2 separate regions of the Homo sapiens genome follow, and region 1 is linked to region 2. Evidence: promoter capture Hi-C in 16 types of primary human blood cells and fetal thymus (Javierre and others, 2016). All regions are on one chromosome and are shown on one strand. Each heading gives the region's core, a stretch centred on a gene start or on the middle of the fragment in contact. The rest is flanking DNA. Distances are from core to core; before and after follow the strand shown. Region 1 has its middle 58 kb from the start of LINC02671. Region 2 holds the start of LRRTM3 (leucine rich repeat transmembrane neuronal 3).

Evidence for each region. The method cuts DNA at HindIII sites, captures the fragments that hold promoters and counts their contacts. A CHiCAGO score of 5 or more calls a contact.
Region 1: a fragment that was not itself captured here is called in contact with the fragment with the promoter of LRRTM3 in region 2 in 1 of 17 cell types (M2 macrophages); the score reaches 6.1 in M2 macrophages.

Annotation. Positions count from the first base shown.
Region 1 is chr10:64,981,222-64,984,508 of GRCh38, forward strand. No RefSeq gene overlaps it. Among named protein-coding and RNA genes, the nearest start is that of LINC02671, 58 kb to the left of the region's middle. The HindIII fragment of the contact is 404 bases long and covers 1,389-1,792 here.
Region 2 is chr10:66,924,626-66,928,044 of GRCh38, forward strand. LRRTM3 (leucine rich repeat transmembrane neuronal 3) reads left to right here and starts at 1,411. Exons shown (of 3, transcript NM_178011.5): 1 at 1,411-1,962; 2 at 2,296-3,419. The coding sequence starts at 1,959. All of the region lies in intron 7 of CTNNA3 (catenin alpha 3), which reads right to left. The region is part of intron 3 of LOC101928961 (a long non-coding RNA gene); the gene reads right to left. RefSeq lists an enhancer at 798-1,654 and a silencer at 1,274-1,383. The HindIII fragment of the contact is 12,033 bases long and covers 1-3,088 here.

The sequences.
Region 1 (3,287 bases), core at 341-2,840, 1.9 Mb before region 2:
AAAACAAATCTTGTTGACTCCTTGATTTTGGACCTCTAGCCTCTAAAACTGTGACAATAAAAATTTCTATTGTTTAAGCCACCTAGTTTTCTGTACTTTTCTACAGAAGCACTAGAAAAGTAAGATAGTCCTGTCTTAGTCTGTTTCGTGCTACTATAAAGGAATACCTGAGACTCGGTAATGAATAAACAAAAAAGGCTTATTTGAAGCTTGCAGTTCTGCAGGCTGTTTGAGAAGCATGTTACTGGCATCTGTTTGGCTTCTGGTAAGGGCCATAGACTGATTCCACTAATGGCAAAAAGCAAAGGGAAGCTAGTGTGTGCAAAGATCACATGGCAAGAGAGGAAGCAAAGGGGTAGGGGAAGGTACCAGGCTCATTTTAACATCCAATTTTTTCAGGAATGAATAAAGGGAGAGCTCACTCAGCTTTCCTTACCCCTGCCAGAGGTGGCATCATTCTATTCATGAGGTATTCAGCCCCATGACCTAGCTCCTTCCATTAGGTCCTGCCTCCAATATTGGGAATCGAATTTCAACATAAGGTTTGCAGGAATCAAACATTCAAACTACATCAAGTAGGGATTTTCTGGTTGACCCTGAGAAGACTGGAACCATGTATTCAATTAACTGTTCCATGGATTAGATGGTGTCAGATGTCAGATGTCAGTGCGAACCCTTTGCTCTTACCACATCAGTGCACATTGCCTGATATTGAACTCATCGCACTTTCTCTGGACATCAGAGCCTATTTTGCCAAAATATCGGGGTAGGGGAAAATGAACTTTGTGAGCACCCTTTTACTGAGTGACAGGAGGCTATAAATAAATATTCTAGCTTATTTCACATTCAAGAGAGATAACTGAATTGTATGTTCTAATAAAGCTTCCAGAGCACTCCAGCAGGATCAAGCTCCAGTTACCTACAGTGGTAACCAGCCCAATAATGCACATTATTATCTGTCTTTCCCTCTTTACCTTTTCCTTACTGGTATGCTATCAAATCTCTGTTTAGGCTTTGCTTCTGTGGGAACCAAAGCTAAATTAATCTATGTTTTCTACATATATTGACTGTACTCTGTCAGAAACTTACATGTCCTGAGAATTCCATGGTAAATAAAACAGACCTCATGAGGCTGGCAGGAATAACATTAAAATGAGTATAAAAAAATAGTAATGTAATTATACTTGTGTTATGTGTTCTCTCTCTCTGTCTCTCTCTCTTTGCTGTGTGTGTGTGTGTATTTTTCCATGTCAATACTTTGTTTAGATGCATATGACCATAGATGCAGTGTGCCTCATCCAGATATTTGGCCCAACTCCTCTGGCTTTCATCCTAACACTTTAGCAATCTCAGAAGAGAAAGCTACTCATCTTCAATATCTGTGATAAAGCTTTACCAACTACATGGGCAGACAGTTGGAAGACACTGATTAACTTGGTTTAAATCACATGTGATGAAAGAGTAATAGAGGCAAGATCAGCCATCACTTATTTCACTTTTTTAGATAATGAAGAAGTTAACTGTGGCAGAGCTAGATCTAAGGCATGAACTCCTTTGTATATTCTTCCCACCAGATAACACTGCATTCCACTTGTGTTAATTATCCTGTCATGGTTCTAGGTCCTACTCTACTCTGTAAAAGCCTAAGGTTATCACAATAATCAACATAAATTAACATGCTCCTGCTATTGTTAGCTGTCCCAATGTGTGTTGTCATACATATATTATGTAAACTGAGAAAATAACTCTTGTCACTACTGTATATATGATAGGTGAAATAATCAAAATATGAAGCTTAAGAAAAAAATGTTTATTTTAGATAAAAATACCTTGTTTTAACATTGATAGAAATGTTATGTTCTCATTTGTTATTTCATTGGACTTGTATTTTGAATCATATATTATTGATTCTTTGGGTCAAACATGACTATACTAATCATGTACTTTTCTCTCAAGATCCAATTGCTTATATTGTGAATCAATTACTCTAGAGAGCTCATTGATTCTACATAAACAGTTCATAACTAATGAATTTCTGATTGATTTTGAATTTTCTTTTAGTATTTTTATATAGGAAATTATCACTTAATAAACTACCACAAGACAAACAGAAAGAACACTTTGGTTCCAATACTTTCCAGGTGAGAGGACGGTAAAATCACCTTAATCTTATTTATTTATTACTTTTACTGAAGTATTCTTTAGACTTAACTTCCAACTCTCTTTAGAATATTTAGTTGTCCCACAAGTACCCAGAATATCAGGTATTGACTTCACATTTTCCTAAGATGTCATTAGTGTGCAATTATTGTTTTTGATTTTTTTTTGGATTTTTTTTGCCTATAATTTATACAATTGTAAATATATTTTTATTTTATGAAGTCTGAAATCTAGAATCAATTTTAATTTTGTCCACCCTGTCACTCTATGTTGCTTAGATCAATGAGCCCCATAACTCTGTCAGATGACATACCTTATAATTCTATTTTTCTCTTGCATCTTTCCTGGTACAGTATATATAGTCTATTTATTACAAATTTGATACATTATATAAATATACATTACATATATTTGATATACAACAGTCTTCAAAGAGTTCATGAAAAATGCATAATATACAAAACCTATTCATGGATTTCTATTTTTTTGCACCAAAATAAACTTGTAGTAATTTGTTATAACACATTCAAACAAGATCTAGTTTGAGGCACTAGGAAGGATAAGACATCATTTCAAAATAAACTCCTATCAGAGCAACATAAATTCTGCTAAAATTTAAACAAGAAAAACATCAAATTTATGGTGAAGCTGGTGTGCAAAAATGGTGGAATCACTGATGCTTTATGGAAAGTTTATGGGGGCAATGCTCCAAATAAATCAGCATCTTACAAATGATGATTTTTAAATACTCATCTTAAGAAAAGATAAGACAACATCGAAGATGAAGCCTGCAGTGGTAAACTATGTACATCAATTTCTGAGAAAAAGTTAATTTTGTTCATGTCCTAATTGAAGAGGATCTAAAATTAACAGTACAAACAATAACCAACACTATAGACATCTTTATTTGTTCATTGTACACAATTCTTACTAAAAATTGAAGGTGAATTAATTTTCCACTTGATGGGTGCCAAAACTACTGCACCAAGATCAGCTGCAGACATGAGCAGAGCTATCAATGAAAATTTTAAACAATTGACATTAATATTCTGATGCATTTTTTCAAAGAATTATAAAGTAGATGGAACATGAGTTTTCCAGTATAATCCTGATGACAAAACACAATC
Region 2 (3,419 bases), core at 161-2,660:
CTAAAGTTGTTCTTTGTGAGTTAATGAAGGTCAGTATAGTCAATATTCAGTACGTAATCCTAGCAAGTACAAATAAAGTTAATATTATTCAAATATCTTACACAGGCTTATTGCATGCAACACACTGTTCTAAGTAACATACAGATATTAAAATGACTTAATTCTCAAAACATGAAGTGAGTTTTTGTTTTTATGCCCGTTTTGCAGATGAGAAAACTGAGGCATAGGGAAGGTAAGTAACGCGCTTAAGGTTACATAGCTGGTAAATTGTAGCCAGGAGTTGGAATCTAGGTGCCAAAATCTATGCTGTTAATCACTAAACTACGCTGCCTTAGTTTTTATACTTCTTTAGGAACCTCAGACCAAAAGAAATTTAGGCAATTCTAATAGAACAAGCAAGAATTTGCTAATCACAGCTTCCTTGCCCCAATCCTTTAATCGGCTTCATTTTCACTGACTTCTTTTTTAAATGAAGATAACAATGTTGTTGAACAGGATCATCTAGTGGTTAGTGGTTCGGCATAAGAATGACTCGCTTCTGAAGCTCAGCTCTAGCACTCGCTTGCTGTATGACCTTGAGAAAGTTACCTCCCCAAGTCTGTTTCCTCATCTTTAAAAGAGAGGTTATAATAGGACCCACATCATACTATTGTTTAAAGAGAAAACAACGTAGCCCATTTAAAGCACTTAGAAAGTGCTCCATAAATATTATTAGTGTAATAAATAGCAGCAACATCAATAAAGTATGAACCAAATGATCTCTTGATTCGTATCCTAACACTAAAAATGGTTTATTTCCCTTCTAATTAAAAGAGAATTACAACAACCAAAACAACAAACGAAACTATAGCCATAAAATCAATTATATCGTCTGTGAGAAAACCGGAAAGGCTATTGGACACATTAATTCACTTGTCATCAGTCATCCCCTCTATTCCAAAATGTTTGTGTTCTAACATCCTGAGACACCTTGCATAATATAATCACTGTGACTCCAAGAGGTCAAATGGGCAGGCAGTTAATGCTTCTCTGTGAAAAGCTCAATAATTCATTTTATAAATTTCAGTTTAAAGCCTGCGTTGAGGTTAAGAAAAATTGACGTTCGGTCTGTGAACTTAATGTCAAGCTCCAGAAAAACTCTGGGCAGCACATGTTTAGCAATTAAGTGGACACAGACAATAAAGACGTTGCCAAATTGTAAAACAAGACTTGGAAATCACAGAAAATGTTGCTAGTTATTGATCACGGTGACCATTCAGTTCCTACTGAGCCACCCAAAAGAATCATTCATTTTCCAGCAGAGAGCCTGCTCATTTGCAAGATAAAAGAGAGACATTTCTGCACATGCCCATAATGTTCTTCACCACTGGGGGCAGCTTTACATAAGACTGCATTCACTGAAACCAAAGCAACAGTCCGAGCAGCTTTCAGAATGACAGTCTGCAGAAGTGAGCTGAGCGTGTGCGCGGTACGGGGCTCTCCTGCCTTCTGGGCTCCAACGCAGCTCTGTGGCTGAACTGGGTGCTCATCACGGGAACTGCTGGGGTATGGAATACAGATGTGGCAGCTCAGGTAGCCCCAAATTGCCTGGAAGAATACATCATGTTTTTCGATAAGAAGAAATTGTAGGATCCAGTTTTTTTTTTAACCGCCCCCTCCCCACCCCCCAAAAAACTGTAAAGATGCAAAAACGTAATATCCATGAAGATCCTATTACCTAGGAAGATTTTGATGTTTTGCTGCGAATGCGGTGTTGGGATTTATTTGTTCTTGGAGTGTTCTGCGTGGCTGGCAAAGAATAATGTTCCAAAATCGGTCCATCTCCCAAGGGGTCCAATTTTTCTTCCTGGGTGTCAGCGAGCCCTGACTCACTACAGTGCAGCTGACAGGGGCTGTCATGCAACTGGCCCCTAAGCCAAAGCAAAAGACCTAAGGACGACCTTTGAACAATACAAAGGATGGGTATGTTTTGTCATTTTTCTTCTTTCCTTCTTAAAAACAAAAAACAAAAAACCTCTAGTGTGTGTAATAATTCTGCCTTAATTATTTTAGAGATTACCTTGCTCTGCTCTAAGACTATGAATTTATTTGCTTAGTGGCATGTTTCCTTGTTTAACTATTTAAAAAAACAAAACACTAAAGACAATTCTCTTTAATTACAAAGAGATAATATGTGATGTTAAGTGTTATTTAGATTTAAATTTTTAAAAATGAAAAATATATGCCTATTTTTGCTTGATTAAGGATTAATTCTTTTTTGGGGGGATAACTTTTCTAAGTTGTTTTTATTTCCAGGTTTCAATGTAATTAGGCTACTGAGCGGATCAGCTGTAGCACTGGTTATAGCCCCCACTGTCTTACTGACAATGCTTTCTTCTGCCGAACGAGGATGCCCTAAGGGCTGTAGGTGTGAAGGCAAAATGGTATATTGTGAATCTCAGAAATTACAGGAGATACCCTCAAGTATATCTGCTGGTTGCTTAGGTTTGTCCCTTCGCTATAACAGCCTTCAAAAACTTAAGTATAATCAATTTAAAGGGCTCAACCAGCTCACCTGGCTATACCTTGACCATAACCATATCAGCAATATTGACGAAAATGCTTTTAATGGAATACGCAGACTCAAAGAGCTGATTCTTAGTTCCAATAGAATCTCCTATTTTCTTAACAATACCTTCAGACCTGTGACAAATTTACGGAACTTGGATCTGTCCTATAATCAGCTGCATTCTCTGGGATCTGAACAGTTTCGGGGCTTGCGGAAGCTGCTGAGTTTACATTTACGGTCTAACTCCCTGAGAACCATCCCTGTGCGAATATTCCAAGACTGCCGCAACCTGGAACTTTTGGACCTGGGATATAACCGGATCCGAAGTTTAGCCAGGAATGTCTTTGCTGGCATGATCAGACTCAAAGAACTTCACCTGGAGCACAATCAATTTTCCAAGCTCAACCTGGCCCTTTTTCCAAGGTTGGTCAGCCTTCAGAACCTTTACTTGCAGTGGAATAAAATCAGTGTCATAGGACAGACCATGTCCTGGACCTGGAGCTCCTTACAAAGGCTTGATTTATCAGGCAATGAGATCGAAGCTTTCAGTGGACCCAGTGTTTTCCAGTGTGTCCCGAATCTGCAGCGCCTCAACCTGGATTCCAACAAGCTCACATTTATTGGTCAAGAGATTTTGGATTCTTGGATATCCCTCAATGACATCAGTCTTGCTGGGAATATATGGGAATGCAGCAGAAATATTTGCTCCCTTGTAAACTGGCTGAAAAGTTTTAAAGGTCTAAGGGAGAATACAATTATCTGTGCCAGTCCCAAAGAGCTGCAAGGAGTAAATGTGATCGATGCAGTGAAGAACTACAGCATCTGTGGCAAAAGTACTACAGAGAGGTTTGATCTGGCCAGGGCTCTCCCA